3 separate regions of the Homo sapiens genome follow, and regions 2 and 3 are each linked to region 1. Evidence: promoter capture Hi-C in 16 types of primary human blood cells and fetal thymus (Javierre and others, 2016). All regions are on one chromosome and are shown on one strand. Each heading gives the region's core, a stretch centred on a gene start or on the middle of the fragment in contact. The rest is flanking DNA. Distances are from core to core; before and after follow the strand shown.

The links. Contacts are between HindIII fragments. The CHiCAGO score rates a contact against its expected background, and 5 or more counts as called.
Region 2: a contact is called between a fragment that was not itself captured here and the fragment with the promoter of ZNF330 in region 1, in 2 of 17 cell types (total CD4 T cells and naive CD8 T cells). The highest score is 7.6, in total CD4 T cells.
Region 3: a contact is called between a fragment that was not itself captured here and the fragment with the promoter of ZNF330 in region 1, in 1 of 17 cell types (total CD4 T cells). The highest score is 6.3, in total CD4 T cells.

The regions. Positions count from the first base shown.
Region 1 is chr4:141,218,916-141,222,226 of GRCh38, reverse strand. ZNF330 (zinc finger protein 330) reads right to left here and starts at 1,332. Exons shown (of 10, transcript NM_014487.6): 1 at 1,119-1,332. RefSeq lists enhancers at 536-1,040, 1,041-1,547. The HindIII fragment of the contact is 10,650 bases long and covers 1-3,311 here.
Region 2 is chr4:143,192,972-143,195,941 of GRCh38, reverse strand. USP38 (ubiquitin specific peptidase 38) reads right to left here. Exons shown (of 10, transcript NM_032557.6): 3 at 97-226. Among named protein-coding and RNA genes, the nearest start is that of USP38, 9.5 kb to the right of the region's middle. The HindIII fragment of the contact is 3,520 bases long and covers 1-2,970 here.
Region 3 is chr4:143,213,197-143,216,335 of GRCh38, reverse strand. USP38 (ubiquitin specific peptidase 38) reads right to left here. Exons shown (of 10, transcript NM_032557.6): 9 at 1,393-2,755. Among named protein-coding and RNA genes, the nearest start is that of USP38, 30 kb to the right of the region's middle. The HindIII fragment of the contact is 491 bases long and covers 1,377-1,867 here.

The sequences.
Region 1 (3,311 bases), core at 83-2,582:
TAAGCCTTATGAAACGTTAAGCACATATTATTCCAAATGAAGCGGGTGATCCTTAACGCATTTATTGGCACTAACGATTCTAAAAATGTAAACGTCAAAAAAATTTACCCTAAAAGACAAACTAGTCTTCTTTTCCCACTAAGAAAAAAGTTTCTCCAATGATAAAGTATTCTGCACCTCATTAAAACAAATGAATCATGTATCATTAGCAAAAACAAAAAAATCATTAATAAGAGCATTATTTAGCCAGTTTATATCACTTTTTTGAGCTATATATTCAGATGACCTGACGCTGCCAACACCTTAAGTATAACAAGTTTAATTTTTCCTATGTAATATGTAAACAAAACATCTAACAGTCAACAAATAACACTATTTATTAACTACAAAGTCAAAACATTCTGAAGATATTTAAGGTATTAGTTGCTCTGACTTTAACAAATGCTCTTCCCTCTACACGCAGTGAGCATGTAATTTTAACGGGGTTCAAATTTACGTTTAAGAGTATGTTTAATTTTCATCATTTAGTTGAAATACAAGATTTTTCTAAACTGAAGTTTTCTGAACTGAATGCTCAATTAAAAAAAAAACAAAACAGGTGGTAAGCAGTACGGTAGCAACTGAAAAATAGCCAGATTTAATAGGTGGTTATTTCGGTAACGTAACGCCCAGACCACTAAGGCACCATTCCAATATGTAAAATGACAAAATCTAGAGGGCGTGCTGCCCTGGCCAAAGAACCTCAGAAAATAATCACGAGGTGATCATGCGGATTAACTTTCTGCGTCCTCAGAGATATCCTCTGAATCCTCTGATAAAGTTAAATCTCATTTTTTTTTCCCTCCAGTTTGTTCTGCACGCTCAAAAGAGTGAATCTTCTTCTCAGCCTTATACGGGTTCAAGCCCTTTTCCGGTAACACTCCAACTTCTTGCATGCACTGCGTGTGTCACCAAATGAGGAAACAGGCACGGGGCACTGCGGCTTTAGGAGTCCAGCCTGGAGCTGGAGGACCCAGTGGGGCGGAGGGGCGTCCAGGGGAGAAGCGGCGGAGGTGCCAGGCGGCTCGGGGACCCGCAACGGGGACCCGCAACCGTCACCCGCCCGCGGGACACCCTACCTCGTGCGCGCTCCGGGCAAACCTCGCTCACTTTCGCCGGGAGACCGGACTCACTCAGGGGGCCGAGGGACAGGGAATGGCGTGAGGCCCACCCGCGACAGCAGTAAATCCAACTCGTGGACCAGGACTCCGGGAAAGAAGGTACTAACAGCCAGGGAGGCTGACAGCCGATTCCGGACACTAGGAGACGGACCGGACGTCCTTTTACGACAGCAGCGCCTTACGGCTGACGTCATAGGACGGGAGCCGCCCACCTCTGTTCGCTCCGCCCCTTCCCCGCCCACTCCTGCGGGGGCCAATGCCCCATTCCTAAGCAGAGGATCTGCAGAAAAGGAAGGGAATGCGAGGGAAAATAGGGAAGCAGAAGGAGGGAAAGCAGGGGAAGGCCCCCTCAGTTTTACTTTTTTAGAAAAAGGAGAAATCTAAAAGGAAGAGGAAAATGAACTCACAGACTTGGTACTGGATCAATTGACTCAAACAGCAAATTCATGTTGAATTCTGTTGGAAACCTTTCCCCACCTCTACATCTTGCGTGCCTCACATCCCACCTTTTCTTGGTTGCTGCGCAAACTGTGCCTTCAGTTGCCTGATGAACTTCCGTACCAGCCTCCCCTGTCTCTTATTTCTGTTATGCCCTCTGGATTCCATTCCTTTGTGAACAAATCATCCCACATTCTCTACCTCTAATGTGTAATCTGCCTGCTTTTAACTGAAACCTGATGATCCTCCCCCTGCATCAGAATCTCCTTCCGATCAAGCACCTCCACCTTTGCATAGCCGACCAAGCTGGGTTTCCTAATCTCTTTCGGAGCTCTGCCGCACTTAGGATTCAGTACCAGGCCTATTCCTGTGCTTTTCCTGCCCTCCCCCTGCAGGAGATAAAAGCCTCTTTATTTGGACCAAAGAGGCCTTCTGGAATTTACTCTTAGATTTTGATAGCCAATTAACCATCTCAGCCTTTTGCTATTTTCAAAGAATCAATTTTACTTAGCAATAACAGTCAATGCCACTGTCATTAAGGTTACTATTTCCCTCATAGTTCTCAAATGCCTGATACATTTTACCTACTCGTATATAAATTAGAATACCACCCCAGTTACGTTAGAATACCACCCCAGTTTCATTACTGATGAAAGTTGTAACTATTGCACTGTTACCTTGTGCCGAGGTCTGTGTGTCCTACACCTACCACCGAGGGGGTCCTCATTGATAGTCACATGGCCTGTGATTCGAATCATAAATCCCATCTTAGCCTAACTTGAACCACTCCTGACACCAACTGTTTTAGGTTGGCTTCCCCAGGAAGCATACTCTGAGTCAGAGAAGAGTATAATGAGTATGTTAGGGAATGCTTTGGGGAACAACATCTGCAGGAGAAATGGAAGCAGGATTGAGCAGAGGGAAGAGTTGACCTGCAGTGACGTCTCAGTGAAGGCCTCGTTTTGAATCTGGGATATCCCTTCAGAGTTGTCTTGAGTTAGGGGAACTGGGCTGGACCTTTATACACCTATGACATTTAGTCACTGGATGAACGCTGCCAAAGGAGAAGAGTGCAACCTTGGGTTAAAGGACTCCTGAAGATGGCCAAGAGCTGGATTGTGTTGGCTTGCTGCACTCTCAGCAGCTCAGGAAATAAGTCTTTCATTGAGGAAGAGGGATCTGGGTAGTGCCTGCCAGTATTCACTACCAAGAGTGATGGCAAAATAAATATTCTGACAAAGACAAAGAACCTTTACTATTCACAGATACTCAGTGAAAGAATTTCAAAGGGCAGTCTTCACAAGATGAAAATGGAATTTAAAAGGCAGGAGGGAATACAAAAAGTAATAATAATCAATTTATTTAATATATAGGGTAAATCTAAAACATTATATAAAACGACAAAATTATAATAAGCAATTTGGGATATGAAAATTATAAGGAACTGAAATATTCTATAAATTCAATGCAATTCAAATCAAATCCTCATATAGATTTTTTTAATGGAATTTGGTTAATTGCTCTCTCAAATTCATAGGAACAATTAAAGATTGAAAAGCCCAGACCATTTTAGTTATACAAGCAGAAGGATACTTTTATTTATTATAAAGCTCTAGTAATTAAAACAATATTGCATAGTTTCAGGTGTCAGCAAATAGACAAATGCAACTGAATAGAAAGCCTAGATACAGACTCACATACATTTGGATATTT
Region 2 (2,970 bases), core at 54-2,553, 2.0 Mb before region 1:
ATTCAAAATTAGATGCTTTCAAGGATACCACCCAAAGAAAAAAATATTGATTTTATGAGTCTATATATTCTAATAGATTTCCATACTCCCACTTACCAGTTCTATTTTCAGCAAAGTAACATCTATCAAAATAGTAAACTTCTGGACAGCTGCCAGTCCTTTCAGGAGTGCAATTACCCATGTATCCACATGCTGAGCCAATGGCCAGGATAGCCAGTCAATCATTCTGAAATTGAAGGAAAATGAAACAATCATTATTGAAAATATTTTCATTTAGTTAGTGATAACAAGAGTTACAGTAGATAATCACTCACTTTGTGAATAAACATTTACTGAATTTGCTGGTGAAAAGCACTGACCAAGATGTAGAAGTGAATGTAACAGGTGCTTGTTCTCATGGAATTTCCAATCTTGTAAACTGACAGTTTCTCATATCCAACATATTTCCATAAAAAGAATTTCTGATAAATTATTTTGCATAAACGCAAAACTTAAAATTTATGCTATATAGTGGCACAGGTTGAGTATTCCTTATTTGAAATGTCTGGAACCAGAAGTGCTTTGGATTTTCAATTATTTGCATTACATATTTACTGGCTGGGCATTTCAAATCCAAAAATTTGAAATCTGAAATGTCCCAATGAGCATTTCCTTTGAGCATCATGTCAGCACTCAAAAAGTACTGGATTTTCAAACATTTCAAATTTGGGATGCTCAACCTGTATCAAGAATTTATTAGGCAAATTTACTCTAAAAAGAGCAGCTGAAATGTAATCTGAACTAAGACATATGAATATGATCCAAGATTCCTCCTTCCTGGTGAGTACAGTCTAATATGAAATGTACTGTTTAAAAAGACTGTATTTTGAACTGTGAAAGAGGTATCTTTTTCAAATCCGACTATACAAAGAGAACAAAAAGAAACTTCAAATATATAAAAAAGCACTAAGTCTGTAAATATTGTAATGGCTTCATTTTGCACTAATGAGTGCTTTTCTTGAAAGAAAACTCATTAAATTACCCAATTTAGTGAAAAAAAAAAAAAAAGTAATATAGGATTGGACAGAGACACTCCCTAAAGTTAGATCTCTACCACAATGAAGATTGATACAACTCTTTCAGAAAGCAGCTGAAAGTCAGATGCAGTGGCTCACGCCTGTAATCTCAGCACTCTGGGAAGCCAAGGCGGCTGGATCACCAGAGGTCAGAAGTTCGAGACCAGCCTGGCCAACAGGGTGAAACCCCATCTCCACTAAAAATACAAAAATTAGCCAGGCATGGCGGCACGTGCCTGTAATCCCAGCTACTCGGGAGGCTGAGGCAGGAGAATGGCTTGAACCTGGGAGGCGGAGGTTGCAGTGAGCCGAGATCACGCCACTGCACTCCAGCCTGGACAACAGAGCGAGACTCCGTCTCCAAAAAAAAAAAGAAAGCAACTGAAGCAAATGTTCATATAATTTGACCTAGTAGTCCTATTTTTGGGATTATATACTAAGAAAATAGAAAGGGGAAAAATGAGTTTTTGAAGCCAGAGTGACTGGTTTAAAAAGCTCAATTCACCATTTATTAGCTAGGGGACCCTAAATACCTACATAGATTATTTAACCTCTCTGTTTCCTCACCTGTAAATTACAGATAAACATGCTTATTTTATAGCACTGTTGTGAAGATTAAATGAATTAATCTATAACACTGGAAACATTGTGAATGCCTCTCTTCCACCAAATGTTAATACATGTGGCAATAAATAAATACCTTGATTATACAAAATGTAAATATAAACACTAAGGACATAAATACATTACTAAAACAACAACTACTATGTTAAAAGGACTGACATCTTTTTTCTTTTTGAGACACAGTCTCGCTCTGTCACCCAGACCGGAGTGCAGCAGCATTACTTCAGGTCACTGCAAAGTTCGCCTCCTAGGCTCAAGCGACCCTCTCTCCTCAGCCATCTGAGTAGCTAGGACTACACAGCTGTGCATCACCACAACTGGCTAATTTCTGTATTTTCTGAGATGGGGTTTCACCAAGGGGGTTGCCTGAGCTGGTCTTGAAATCCTGGCCTCAAGTGATTTGCCCACCTCGGCCTCCTAAAGTGTTAGGATTACAGGTGTGAGGCACTGTGCCTGGCCAAAGGACTGACATCTTCATTTATATGGTTATTTTCACAACAGTTGTGTTATATAACTATCTACATTAACACTGGAATGTTTTTTATTAAGGTTTTTGCTTTTAAAATTAAAATGTCCATTCGGATATTAAGAGTGGTCCCAAAGTCCAAATGCATGTTAACTACAAGTTATGTGTATGTTCCCTCCATTCTCTACACAAACTTTATTTCCATTCTTGTTTTTCTGGCCTTTTCCAACAATGATGGTTACAAGTGATTAACATAGTCCTTGACAGCTATTCCACGTCTTCCAACTATTGTTGGGGTGATTCTCATAAAATTTTGTGGCCATTCTACTTATACAGAGTAGCAAAGCAGAGACACACTTGCATATGTGTACAGAGGGTATTCACTGTAGCACTGTTTATGGTATAGAAGAACTGCAAACAACCTAAATGATTGTCAATAAGGAAATGGCTACTATGGTACTGATACTATGCAACAGTATATAGAGTTTTAAATAATAAGATAGATGTACATGAATCTATCCATGAGGAATCTAAAATGGAAAGAGCTGAGAAATTGTTGAATTAACAAGGAAAAAAAAAACCACTGCAGTTTTTTTAAAAAACAATTTTAGTTTAAAAGAAAATCATGTGAATATATATGTAAATATGGACATAAAAAAGATGTAATCTAAAGGCAGGGTATGTGTGAGCACATCTTGGCTCTGTGGATTCTTTGCATCATGGGAAGTCACACTGTCAGAGCAGAACCAGACAGGGCTCACCAGAATACAGGTCTCAAGGCCAGTCTAAAGAGAGTACTGAGAGAGGACGAGAGCAGAGAGTAGA
Region 3 (3,139 bases), core at 373-2,872, 2.0 Mb before region 1:
AAACTTAAGATTGAATCTAGAACAACTGCACAAAACTGAAAAACTGAATTAACAAAATACATAATGCTTTTTCTTTATAATAAAGTAACATACGAGTCTTAAAATAATAATGAAAAGAACAGCTCCTCATGCTCAAATATTGTATAATCAGAAAGTAATGGGGTAAAAGGCAAGATAAACTGGAAAATCACTTGGAGCTAAGCTACAAACAAGTGGTTGCTATGGCTATACAAGCATTTGGGATTCTAATCACAGAAATGAGAGTAGTTTTTTATCTTTCAAAACCCATATTTCTCCTCTGACTAGTGTTTATATGATATCTAGTAAGAAGGACACAGTTGAATACATTCTATTTCTAGCATGTTGATCATAAGCCATCTGACTAGATGTTAGAGTCTTCAGTAGTTAATCAGTTCAAACAAATATTCTGATTTTCTATTTTTTTCTGTAAAGTTTATTGTTTTTGTCACTCAAGAACATCGCTATACTTCTTTAAAAATGTGTATTTTATAACGCAGTAAATTTGAAAGCTTTTGAGAAAATTTCCCTCTAAAAATCAGTACTATAGTGGCTCATTTCTTATTCTATCTGTATCTTTCAGGAGTGACTTTCAAACACAGAATTTTCAAAATGTACTCATTCAAACTCAAAATCACTTAGACTACCCAATTAATGTACCTAGAATTTCACCTGTAATTTACTGCTAGCCCTGTATGTTGAGAACAAATTAGCAAGTTTCAAAAACAAAAAAAAAATACTTTCAGCAAGAATTTTAACTTTTTATTAGCCTTTATTTAAGTAATAAAATCACTAACTCCTTGAAAAAAGTATATTTATGAATAAATTTATCTCATATAAAACCATTCCTTGGCTTCGATTTACAATTGTTCTATTATCTCCTTGGTTTTACTAACCACATCCTCAAAGAATATGAATATCCTTTCTTTACATAGTCTACATTTTAGTGTTTTTTAATCTTATCCACCTAAATATCAATAAACAGCCCTTAAAACATTTACACAAAAGTCTTGAGGGCATAAATACCACATTTAGCAGTTATTTCCTCTGGTGGGTGAGGCTGAGAGGAAGAGGGAGGATATGTCCACTTTTGTAAACTTTCTGTATTTTGTATGGCATGATTTCAGAATGAGCCATCTTTTGTAAGGAACAAATAAAGTCTTCTGCATTACATCTAATTGCCACTTTTCATTTAAATTGTCACAATATTAGAAAGGCAATTTAGTTATACAGGTTGAGAATACTTCATGTAAATCCAGACCTATATTTCAGAATTTAATAAAAACTCATGTTAGATTTCAAAATGAGGGTACTCATTTAACTGTGTCAATTGTTTAATATTTTCAACAAATAAAGCTTGTATTTCCAACTTACCTGTAAATATAGTTTATTGTCTTTTGTTATAGCATCCATAAGTTCTTTCTGTAGAGGTGGGTCTCCATTTATCCAGAGTCCACTGGTTGGGTTATTACCACTTAAACCATTAGTACTATGCTGTTTTTTATACAAAAGCACATAAGCTGTGTCCTTTGGAAACCTGCTCGTAATTTTCTGGACTGACTGAAATGAAGTAAATGTCACTCTACTGTCATTAAATAAAAACCATTCTTTTGACATTTCCTTATTTTCCAAATCCTGTTCAAAAACTGCACTGGGACTATCTCTCCCTAGTAAATGACTCTGGGAGGATGCTAATGCCAGAGCCTCAGACTGGTGGTACATCTGATATGAAGAGTCTGTACTTGTGATATTCCTGGCATAAGAATAGTAATGCCCACTTTCAGAGGATATACCAGAGTGAACCACAACGGAACTTAATAGATAGGGCACCAATTTTGTGCAGGAAGCTTCATCAGTCCCTGAAGGCTTTAATTTTTTAGCAAGGTTCTCACTAAGATCAGTGAAGTCAACATCTACAGACCAACTTTCTGACAATGAAGAGAAAGAAGTAATTCTTTTAACTGGCAACTCCAAAACCAGTGGCAGTGATACATTGTCTAAAATTTTCCTTCTCACATGATACTTCTGATCATATGAAAATCTCAGGAGAGTAAGAATAAGGTATTCAGGTTCCTCCGTGATTTGCATAGTTTTCTCAGCATTTTGCAGAGAGGCACAGTTTTCACAATAATATTGGTTATCACCAGTAAGAATCTCTGGAGCCAAAAAATAATTTAGTAAGTCAGTTACTGAAGGTGTGGTTTCACCTCCTGGTTTCTGAGGTACATCTTTATTAACAAGAATCTTGTTAGATTCGTTAGGGACAGAAGTGTTTTCAGAACAGTAAAACTCATTAGGAGGACTGCCTATGGTTTTTTCATTCACAAGTGAGTCACAGATGAAGGCAGCTGTTGTTGGATTATAAACTACTGGTTCTTCTGAAGGACCGGGTACAGAGGCTTGCATTAGACCACCATCTTGTATACTGGGTGATGATGCTGGATCTTGGACAGACATGTTTTCCAAAGAAGAGGAAGGACAAAAGGCAAGCGAAAGATCTGTAAAGGCTTCCACTTTTTGTGAGGTACTCCTGCAGTTCAAACAACGTATGTGAGTTCGTAGTTTTCCTCCAAACATTTTTTCTATTAAAGTCTTCTCACCGTCACTTGTACGAGGGGTCTCTGTTAGTACTGCTGCTTTACTAGCTACTTCCTGTAAAGAAGTTTCACTGCATTCCAGAATTTCAGAAGGCTTGTGTGAGGCCTGAACTTTCAAGATCTTTTCTTCTTCATGGAGCCTGCAGCAGAGGATATCATTATATAGCTACTTAAATTAACTTCAAATGTCATTTCTATTTAAAAATATTAGTGGCTTCTATAAACTATTCTAATCAAATTTAATGTAAACAAATCAGGTTTTTCCTGTTTTAATTAAAAGAAAATTGAACAGTTTTGAGAATGCAGAAAAAAAGCTGGGTGGCTATTACTACTCTATATTCTCATTACACTTTCTTCATACTGCTACTTAATAGCATGTATTACATTGCAGTTAATTATAAACGTCCCTTAACTGTCTTATATATCTCTGTCTTCCTGACATCTCATAGAAAGTCAGGCACAAATAAACTACTGAATAGATTCTTAGCTGAATGGAAGGAAGGCTGCACATACCAAGCCCAACT